3 separate regions of the Homo sapiens genome follow, and regions 2 and 3 are each linked to region 1. Evidence: promoter capture Hi-C in 16 types of primary human blood cells and fetal thymus (Javierre and others, 2016). All regions are on one chromosome and are shown on one strand. The core of a region is centred on a gene start or on the middle of the fragment in contact, and the rest is flanking DNA. Distances in the headings are between cores, read along the strand shown. Region 1 holds the start of TRAPPC3 (trafficking protein particle complex subunit 3). Region 2 overlaps OSCP1 (organic solute carrier partner 1). Region 3 overlaps MRPS15 (mitochondrial ribosomal protein S15).

Region 1 (3,740 bases), core at 508-3,007:
ATTTGAGTAACTATGAATGAAGGCAGGAGTGGGCTAAGTGACTATCTAGAAGAAGGGAGTTCCAAGAGCCTTGAGGGCAGGAGTATGCTGCTGCCCCTCCCTAATTACCTTACTTCACTGAAACGAAGAATACTGGGGGCTGGGGGTAGAGTCTGCAGATTTTTGTTAAAGATTTCAATATTGATTTCAGGCTTAAAAAATGGATAAAATGAGAGCAAAGTACAAAAACTAACCAGGAAGACCTCTACTCATCTCATAGGAAAAGGAGAAAGAAACATTTACCATGCCCCTCACATTTTACACCATCCCATTTAATATTAGGTAGACATTACTATCCCCATTTTATAGATAAAGAAATTGAAGATCAATCAAGTAAGTCAGAATTCCAACCAAGGTCCATGTGTTTCCCCTTACCTGACATTGTTTCCTAACAAAATATTCTCGTCTTTTGGCCGGGTGTGGTGGCTCACCCCTGTAATCCCAGCACTTTGGGAGCCTGAACAGGCAGATCACTTAAGGCCACGAGTTCGAGACCAGGCTGGCCAACATGGTGAAACCCCGTCTCTACTAAAAATACAAAAATTGGTCAGGCGCAGTGGCTCACGCCTGTAATCCCAGCACTTTGGGAGGCCGAGACAGGCGGATCACCTGAGGTCAGGAGTTCGAGACCAGCCTGGCCAACATGGTGAAACCCCATCTCTACTAAAAATACAAAAATCAGCCAGGCGTGGTGGTGGACACCTGTAATCCCAGCTACTCGGGAGGCTGAGGCAGAAGAACTGCTTGAACCTGGGAGGCAGAGGTTGCAGTGAGCCAAGTTAGTGCCACTGCACTCCACCCCGGGTGACAGAGATTTCGTCTGGGGGCGGGGGGAGGGAGGGAAGAACGAAAGAAAAATGACCTAAGTCTGCAGCCCCAGCCCCTAGTCCAACTTTATAGGACCATATGGTGTCCAAACTATTCCCTGGGAAAGAAGGGAGCCACCCACTCCATTAGAGGGGCACCACTCACTGCTTACTCTGGCCCATCTCTTATTCCATTGAATAAAACGTTCCTTTCTGGCACGACCAGTATCTGAACATCTCTCACAATACCCACGCCACAGTACGAGACACTGTAGCCTAAGAGTAAAGCCTAACAGTCAGCTCCTAGCATTAGCTTTGGAGTTAAACACGGGTCCAAATCCTAACTTCCCAGGTGTAAATATGGGCAAATTACGTAAGCTCTCCAAGCTGTAAAACGGCAATGTTATCCATCTGATAGGGGCTACTCTGCAGATTAACTGAGATGCTGTAACGTGCGTGGCCCGGTGCCCAACACATAGTAAGAGAGAAGTTAAGTGGCAGTTATTGGTATTTATTACCGTCGTTGTTGTTGGCTTAGCACAGAGCTGCACTCAGGCCTTGGGGGCGGGGTCTCCTCCGGGGAACTTCTCCGACGGTCCCCTCACCTGCCTGGAACGCCCCCGGAGTGACCCAGCAAGAGGCTTCCCCTTGCCAGAGCTCACAGGAAGGCCCTTTTCCAAACGCACCTCGCGCTCGGCGCCGGGCCCCTTCCCTGTACGCCTCAATTTCGCCCCGCCCGCCGAGGTCACGCGCTCCAAGTTACCATTTTCTTGCTCTCGGTGCCACGGTTCGCCTGCCTCGACATGGTGCCGGCCGCCCCGCCCCACTCGCCTAGCCACGGGTTAGCTCGGCGACCCCTGCAGACGCCGGAGCCTAAGCCGCTGCCCCTCAGCCCACAAGACCGACCGGCACTGACTCACTGCGCCTGCGCGGCCTCCCGCGGGGCACCACGGGACTAGTGGTCCGGCCGACGTGGGCAACTCCCGCCCAACAAACGTCAGACTACAACACCCAACAGCCCCTTTGGCAGCACCGCCTCTTAACACAGTCAACTACAACTCCCGGAGTGCTCCGCGCGCGCCTGCCTGGTAGAGCCCAGCTTGCGCTGGGCAGCATCCTGGCCGCTGGGTGGCGTCCGCAGCCTTCGGTAATCCTGGGTCACACACACGCTTCCTCCTTGTCCCCCTCCCCCCGCGCCCGGCTCAGAGATGATGCTCCACAAATTCCTCTCTCGCCGGGGTTGGTCTTGGAAAGTCCCTCTTTCGAGCTAGCGTCTTCCGCTGTTGCGATTCAGCTCCAGAAGCTCCCAAGATGTCCCAGAAAACTAGCAATGACTCACACAGAATTGGCTTCTTCATTAGAAAAATATTTAATGACCTACTATGTGCCAAGCATTTCGCTAGTGTCTTTCTCTTCAGACTGCCAAACCCCAAATGATGCCAGCACCTGCCTTCTACCACCTGTGGCCTCGTGATGGAATATCCAGTCTTTTAGGTAAAGTTCAAGTCACTTTCTCCCCCTCCCTCCCCCTAGAACAGCTACACTGCCTGGTTCCCAGAAAACAAAGATCACTAACTGTCGTGGCCGTCAGTTCTGAGTTCTAATCCCAGCTTTGCCATTTTAGGCAAGTTGCTAAATCTCTCTCAGTTGTTGTAAAGACTGGTGAGCCACGCATGCCCAGCACTTGGGCGCATAAAAGGCATAAAAGAAACGTGTATTCCCTTCCAGCCACCCTCCAAAAACAAGCCAACAAACAGGCACCAGAAACACGAAGGGAATGTGCTGGCTGAACTCTCACCCATCACCAAGGGGAAGTCTATAGTCCCTGACCACAGCTCTTTGGTTTCAGCTCCCGCGGTCTCTCAGCTGGTCAACTCTGAGGAAGCTGGGCTGGGGGGTCCCTGAGCACTCTCTGTTCACTTAGGCCTGGTAGCCTGACTGTAGCAGCTGCATTCTGGCCCCTAGCCCTCACCATGACAACCAGCCTGTCCAGACACGAGCCAGCCAGGCTAGGGAGGGCTGGGGGGCCGCTGAGGCTGCAAGCTGGTGCCCAGGGTTCCCCCAGTCCCTCCCTCAGGGTGCAGGACCAATCATTATTATACCCTTTTCCCCAGACATTCTGTTTCCTCCCTAGAGGCAGTGACCCCTCACTCTCCATCCTGTGTAATGCCACAGGGGAGGGAGCCAAGGGCCGAGGGCTCTGGGAAGGAACTTGAGGGTTGGTTGGGGTTGGGGGAGGAAAGCAGGAGTCAACTAGCCCCCAAGGGCCAGCTCAGCTAGACAAGAGCCCTCTGCATTCCCAGGACAGAGGACAGCTGAGGTGAAAGCTGCAGTTGGCCAGCCGGTCTGTCGGTCTGGGCTCCTCCCTGCCGGCTGCCCTTGGCTGCCCACAGAAACCTGAGTCACACTCACAGCCAGCCACCCAACCCCACCCTGCCTGCTGTCAAGCAGGGCGGTTCTAGAGAGAGTGGAGGTGGAGCCTTTCCCTGCCTGTCCAACAGCCTCCGAGATTTTGCCTCTCTCTGCCTGGGATTCCTCCTCTTGGCGTCTCTTTCTCTTTGGGACTTGCAGTGTCATTAGTCCTGAATGAACAGTGGGGGTGGGGGCCATCTCAGGTTGATCTATATGATCCCCTCCTCACTCAGATAGGTTCTTAAAGGCTTCTTAGGCCGAGCACAGTGGCTCATGCCAGTAACCCCAGCACATTGGGAGGCAAAGGCAGGAGGAACACTTTAGCCCAGGAGTTTGAGACCAGCCTGGGCAACATAGTGAGACCCCCATCTCCATAAAAAATAATTTTTAAAAAGGCTGTTCTGTTATGAAATAGCCACTCTTTTGTTTATTTACTTTTTTAACAAAAATAAATAAAAATTAAAAAAAACAACAACCAGCTGA
Region 2 (3,562 bases), core at 547-3,046, 290 kb after region 1:
GGCGCCAGCATCCAGACAGTTCACCTGCTGGGAAGAGGACGGCGGGGTCTGTCCTTGTGGGCAGAGCAGTGAGTACAAATGCCCCCAAAGAGGAAATGGCAGTTTAATGGTTGGGCCACGACACCTAGGGCTCCCTCTTCTCGTTTCACTCTTTGGAAATAAGATGGAGGCACACGTTAACATGTTTTTGTCTTACAATTTGCTTCACCCAGCCCTTGGTTGAGGCAGACCTATTAGGTACCAGACAGTGAAATAAACACCACAGGCACAAAGAGGAAGGAGATGTTATCCTGGCCCTAGAGAAGCAGCACATCATCTTTAGGTTAAACCTGAGAAATAGTTTTTTTAAAAAATTTAATTAGCGTACGGGCGCGGTGGCTCACGCCTGTAATCCCAGCACTTTGGGAGGCCGAGGCGGGCGGATCACGAAGTCAGGAGATCGAGACCATCCTGGCTAACGCTGTGAAACCCCGTCTCCACTAAAAAAAAATACAAAAAATTAGCCGGGCGTGATGGCGGGCGCCTGCAGTCCCAGCTACCGGGAGGCTGAGGCAGGAGAATGGCGTGAACCCGGGAGGCGGAGCTTGCGGTGAACCGAGATCGCGCCACTGAACTCCAGCCTGGGTAACAGAGCGAGACTCCAGCTCAAAAAAAAAAAAAAAAAAAAAAGTAATTTGTTTTTTATTTTTTTCCCTTCATCCTAACATCCCTGAAGAAATAGTTTTAATCAGACCCGCCCATTAGTCTAAGTGTTGGTTTTTGGCATGCAAATGAGTTCTGCATACTTTTCACGAGGCCGGAATATACTAGGAGCCGGATTTCAATAGGAAGAGGCTAAGGGGGGCCGGGCGCAGTGGCTCACGCCTGTAATCCCAGCAGTTTGGGAGGCCGAGGTGGGTGGATCACCTGAGGTCGGGAGTTCAAGACCAGCCTGACCAACATGGAGAAACCCCATCTCTACTAAAAATACAAAATTAGCCAGGCGTGGTGGCTCATGCCTGTAATCTCAGCTACTCAGGAGGCTGAGGCAGGAGAATTGCTTGAACCTGGGAGCGGAGGTTGTAGTGAGCTGGGATCGCTCCATTGCACTCCAGCCTGGGCAACAAGAGCGAAACTCCGTCTCAAAAAAAAAAAAAAGGAGGCTAAGGCAGGGGAGGGAAGGGATTTTTCACAGGAGCCTCAGAAAGTTGGTAATTGGGTTCTCAACATAGCAAGCTTCTAGTCCTGGGTTCAGATTATGAAGCCAGTTTCTGTTCATTATTTTTGAACATTTATGTTAAAATAAATTTCAATGATTCAATTATGTATATGAAAAGCTCTCAAAATCCACACTTCATACCTGAAATTCTGCTATGCATCAAGGGAGGGACGGGTCAAAAATTGCTCAAGAAGTGTCAAACGATGGTTGTGAAATGTAATAAAGTGTACCAAGTACTTCAATTGGGCTTTTTTTCGAGACTGGTCTGATGAAATAATTATCTTGATGAAAGCAATCAAGTTTTTACCAATTACCTCTGCTCTAAATTGACTTGTTTATGGGAATATGAAATTTGGAGCCAAGAATTTAGAGAGAGGCTAGGAAACCCTCCTGAATAGTTACCATGTTTCAATCCTTTCTATGTCCCAGGCACTGGGCTTAGAACTTTATATGCATTATCTCATTTAAACTCCAAGACAACTCTGAATTATTATCCTCATTTTTTTTTCCTGCCAGACCACTTATCGTTTTATATTATCCTCATTCTATTAAGGAGGAAAACTGAATCAGAGAGTTTAAAGTCCAAGGTCACACAGCTGGTGATGGAGCTGAAATTAGAATTAGGTCTGTTTGATTTAATGCCTGTGCTTTTAAATATTATTATTATTATTATTATTTTTGAAGTGGAGTCTCGCTCTGTCGCCCAGGCTGGAGTGCAGTGGCAAGATCTCGGCTCACTGCAACCTCTGCCTCCCAGGTTCAAGTGATTCTCCTGCCTCAGTCTCCCAAGTAGCTGGGATTATAAGTGCCCACCACCATGCCCAGGTAATTTTTGTATTTTTAGTAGAGACAGGGTTTCACCATGTTGGCCAGGCTGGCCTCGAACTCCTGACCTCAAGTGATCCTCCTGCCTCAGATTCCCAAAGTGCTGGGATTACAGGTGTGAGCCACTGCACCTGGCCTCTTAAATATTATACAGGTTGTCTTCCCAGCATACTTGGTGTGGTGAGAGCATTTAAAATATTGAGGAGGATGGCTGATGATAGGCACACACCACACCCAAATGTCAAATGACAGAAGGTATCTGAGATTTATTTAAAGGCTGAGAAAGTCTAAGGCTTTATTCTGAGGAGTCGACAACTTTTTCAGGTTTCCTGCTTGCAGTAGGTAAGGGGAAACTGAAGCTTTTGCATGATGAGGCCACACTGCATGCATGATGTCATGCCTTCTGCCCACAGTCCTGGCAGCCATGCAGTTACATGCTTCAATTTTTCTCGGTTGCTCTGTGAGCTTAGGAGAATGGCTCAGGGAGGGTCACTCATGTTGAAGCACAATTCTTTGGTTACATGACAAAACAAAGTTGTTTTAAGGACTACCAAATAGGATGACATACCCCAAAGTATGGCTATTGCCCCAGCTGTCCCAGCAAAGCTTGGAACTGAGAAAAGGAGACATATCCCTCAAGTACAGTGTGGCTTTTTGGTCAGAGTTTGCTTAGTTTTCATCTTAACATGCTGTATTTCTTCCTCTTAAGTAAAAGATTCAAATGTATAACCAATATCTCAGCTAAAGACAAACTCATGCCTATTTTCTTACTTTGACTTTGAAATGTTTCAAGCGGTCCCATTTTAAGCCCTGCTGATAAAGGCCTGAGTGAACCTGTGGATGCACACTGAACACATGCAGCCCGGAGATAGCATACCTCGTTTTCTGTCCACCTCTGTCCATTCATCTACATGAAGCATACAAAAAGAAAACACCAGTTCATGAAGCAAGAACATTATTTTCAAGGAGGCTTTAAACATACCAATTCCAATGATCTTATCTATGAAACTTTACTTTTCACGTTGGCATTTAATGTCTAATGTGAGCACACTGCCTTCTATTTGAAACCTTTAAAAGGATGATGGATAAACAACATATTTCAAAAAAGCTCAAGAAAGGCTATGTCTTACAGAGACTGGCCTAAGAAGAGAGTAAACTGAGGAGGATTAGCTATCCTGTGGTTCATCTTGAAAGGCCCAAGAAGCCCCGCTCTCTAATGCTACAAGAATACATATCATTCAGTAGTAGGCTTTTAAAGACGCTAGCCTCCATGAGGAAGAATAATTCCAAGAACAGGCAGAGAAAAGAGTTTCTTTGTATACAATCTGAGTTTTCTTTTCTTTTCTTTTTTTTTTATTAATGTAAGATTTCCCTTTCTAGAGGACAGATGGAACTGCTCAAATTAGAAAACTTGAAATGTGAATTAAAAGGAAAATGTCAGCATTTGTTTCTGTTTTACTTTTTATATATATAGATGCATGATTTCCATGTAAAAAGAAGCGAATAATGATGGGACCACTATGAAGAAAGCTTCTGAGG
Region 3 (3,297 bases), core at 192-2,691, 310 kb after region 1:
GGCGAGAGTGCAGTGGCGCGATCTCGGCTCACTGCAAGCTCCGCCTCCCAGGTTCACGCCATTCTCCTGCCTCAGCCCCAGTAGCTAGGACTACAGGCGCCCGCCACCATGCCCGGCTAATTTTTTGTATTTTTAGTAGAGACGGGGTTTCACCGTGTTAGCCAGGATGGTCTTGATCTCCTGACCTTGTGATCCACCTGCTTGGCCTCCCAAAGTGCTGGGATTACAGGCGTGAGCCACCGCGCCTGGCCTAGTCTTACTATTATTATCACACATCGTGAGCTTTAGTTTCCAAGGTGTGTTTACATCCCCTAGCTGCCTCTCACAATGCTGCCATGAGGTGGGTAACATTACCTCTGCTCTGCTCTCCCTTATTCCCCCATTTCCAGATGAGGAAGCAGGGGCTCCAAGAGAGGGTTGGTGACTTACCCAAGCTCACACAGTGGTACAAGGTCCAACTGGGTGTTGACTCCAGCATCAGAGCTTGGGATACAGGGTCCAATTTTCATTGCCCTAGGTCCTTCATGTCTCTCCCTTTCCCCAGCCCATGTGCATGTGCTTGTAGACAAGAGCCCTAGATCAGGTCCCAGCTAGCAGGCTTCCCTACACCCCCACTCCCCAAGGGTCCCCGACCAACTTCGAGCCTCCAGGGATCTGGTGTCCTCTGGGTTTGCAACAATCTTCTTCATAAACTGTTCTTGCTTGATTTTTAGCATCTCCTTCTGTTGAAGACAGAGACAGAGAAAATCTGTGGAGTCTGCCACCCTCTAAGAACTAGCCCTCCTCCCCCCAAGGGCCCTGGCTACAGTTATAGCAACTAGGGCCATAAGGCTCAGGGCCTGACTTCACTCTGCTCACTGTGGCCTTGACCAACCACATGGCTATCCACATCCAGGTGAGCCCAAAGCCAAAGCCACTGACAGAGGAAATGACTTGTTGCATGAATGTCCCCAAAGCTTGCTCATTCATTTATGCTCATTCATTCATTCACTGAGCACCTGTTTGTCAGGTGCTAGGGGTATGGTGGGGGAACAAAAGTGTCCCTGCCCTGAAGATGCTCTGTCTAGGGATATTGACAAATGGAGGCAGAATGACAGTGGGCTAAGTGCTGTGACTGGAGAAGCATGAGATGCGGGGTGCTAATCAGGGTAGAAGGGAGTCCCAGAGGAGAAGACTGCGGGAGGCTGAGGCTTGGCAGAGGCTGCTCACCTTGTTGGCCATTTCCAAAGACAAGAGTCTTTTCACGACATCATCAACCCTGTGGATAAACCACAGCAATGAGACAGACATTGGGGGAGAAGAGAGGAAAGCAATGCTGGTTTCATTTTAGTTTGAAAAGCAAAGATGATTGAAAAATTCCTTCTGTAGCAAATGAATCTCCCTGGAGGTGGGGAGCCATTTCCCAGGGATTAAAAGTCAGTGTGGATCTGGCTTGCTGGGCTGAAACTACAGAAACTGGGGCTGTCAGCTCGACTGTTCCGGTCTCATCACAGGGAGGGCAAGGAGAGGATTTCCATTTTAGCTACAACATGGTTCAATCTGTTTTGAGACATTTCAAGTTAAATTGCACAGTGGGAGGGACTGACCAGCTCCCACCACACTGCATAGGAGCTGAGCAGAGGGCCTCTGGCTTTGGTGTCAGTCAGCCCTGGATTCAAACTCTAGCTCTGCCCTTTAGAACTGTATGACACTGGACAGCTTGAAAATCTATAAAATGGGGACATACAGCTTTTGTGAGGAACAAGAGATGAGAGATTTCTACAAAGACCTGTGAAGTATGTTAGCTCCTTGGAATCTAGTGGTACAGGGTGTTCATCTAGAGTACAAAAAAACCCCCAAGTAGCCGAGCTCCATGAGTGCCATCTGCCTTGCTGACCACCCACCCTCACCACACCTGGACACCTGGGCCCCTGCCTCCTTCTAGATCAAGCTTCAGCTACAGCAAGCCAAGTCTCAAAGCCACTGTCTTTCCCCACTCCCCGACAATCCTCCCAGGGCCCCCTGCCTCCTCTACTAGGTTTCTTCCTGCTTACTTCTCAATTCCAGGGACATTCTGGTAGTCTTTGAGCAGCGTAGAGGGAGGTGGGTCATCATCCAGCCTAGACTGGGCTGTCAAGTAAATATGGGGATAGAAAACACCCAGAGTCAACTCTCGCTGCCCACCCTCCCAGACCTGGCTCTTTTCACCCACTCTCCAACTCCAGAAGGGACATTCAGGGTCTCAAGCAAAGCACTGGATATCTCTCGGCTCAGTTTCTCCTTTGCAAACTCCGTGGGCACCTGCTTTGATATTTCATGTTGCGAGTAGGTGGCTTTTCCCAAGACCCTACACTGTGCCTGCACCTTTCACACACCTATCTGGCTCTACAGTTCTCAGATCCCCCACTAGGATGGGTCCTCCTGTGGATAGGACAGAGTTTGACTCCCTTGGAATCCACCATAGTCTGGCCCATGGCTCAGCCTAGACTAGGCACTCAACAAACACTTGCTGGCTGACTGCATGTATGAATTAAGGGGGTTGAGGAAAGGCAGCTAGCTGTACGATGCCTGAAATGTAAGCACCAAGTAGAGATCACAGGAAAACCTCAGTCTTGGTGTGTGCACCCCTGCTATCCCTTGGAGATGAGGAAGAGGCATAGAGTAGATGGACTTATCCTCTCCAGTCAGACCCTGCTATGCAAATAACATTAATGGGCCTCTTCTGTCTGTAACAGCTCAAGTTGATTCTGATAGGGAGGCAGAAAAGAATTATATTAAAAATATATTAATAGCAATAAATTCTACTTATTTTATTTTTTGTAGAGACTGGGTCTTGCTATGTTGCCCAGGCTGGTCTTGAACTCCTGGCCTCAAGTGATCCTCCAGCCTTGGCCTCCCAAAATGTTGGGGCCATGTCCAGCCAATAATTTCTTTCTTTTTTGTTTTTTTGAGATGGAGTCTCGCTCTGTCACCCAGGCTGGAGTGCAGTGGCACGATCGGCTCACTGCAACCTCCACCTCCCAGGTTCAAGCGATTCTCCTGCCTCAGCCTCCTGAGTAGCTGGGATTACAGGCGCGCGCTACCACACCTGGCTAATTTTTTTCTGTATTTTTAGTAGAGACGAGGTTTCACCATGTTGGCCAGGCTGGTCTCGAACTCCTGAACTCAAGTGATCTGCCCACCTTGGCCTCCCAAAGTGTTGGGATTACAGGCGTAAGCCACCGCGTCCGGCCCCAGATAATAAATTCTAATATATACTATCAATATATTTAATTGAGCACAGCGTTAAGGGTGCTTTTCGTGTATTATCGCTGAATC

Evidence for each region. The method cuts DNA at HindIII sites, captures the fragments that hold promoters and counts their contacts. A CHiCAGO score of 5 or more calls a contact.
Region 2: a contact is called between a fragment that was not itself captured here and the fragment with the promoter of TRAPPC3 in region 1, in 6 of 17 cell types (neutrophils, naive B cells, activated CD4 T cells and 3 more). The highest score is 8.7, in neutrophils.
Region 3: a contact is called between a fragment that was not itself captured here and the fragment with the promoter of TRAPPC3 in region 1, in 10 of 17 cell types (neutrophils, naive B cells, activated CD4 T cells and 7 more). The highest score is 9.8, in neutrophils.

Annotation. Positions count from the first base shown.
Region 1 is chr1:36,147,729-36,151,468 of GRCh38, forward strand. TRAPPC3 (trafficking protein particle complex subunit 3) reads right to left here and starts at 1,758. Exons shown (of 5, transcript NM_014408.5): 1 at 1,609-1,758. The coding sequence starts at 1,650. RefSeq lists enhancers at 1,428-2,088, 1,442-1,521, 1,652-2,311. The HindIII fragment of the contact is 15,390 bases long and covers 1-3,740 here.
Region 2 is chr1:36,441,104-36,444,665 of GRCh38, forward strand. All of the region lies in intron 1 of OSCP1 (organic solute carrier partner 1), which reads right to left. It overlaps LOC107984940 (a long non-coding RNA gene), which reads left to right. Exons shown (of 3, transcript XR_001737976.2): 2 at 3,498-3,562. Among named protein-coding and RNA genes, the nearest start is that of OSCP1, 7.6 kb to the right of the region's middle. The HindIII fragment of the contact is 1,167 bases long and covers 1,214-2,380 here.
Region 3 is chr1:36,460,055-36,463,351 of GRCh38, forward strand. MRPS15 (mitochondrial ribosomal protein S15) reads right to left here. Exons shown (of 8, transcript NM_031280.4): 3 at 2,034-2,109; 4 at 1,210-1,258; 5 at 638-722. Among named protein-coding and RNA genes, the nearest start is that of MRPS15, 2.7 kb to the right of the region's middle. The HindIII fragment of the contact is 974 bases long and covers 955-1,928 here.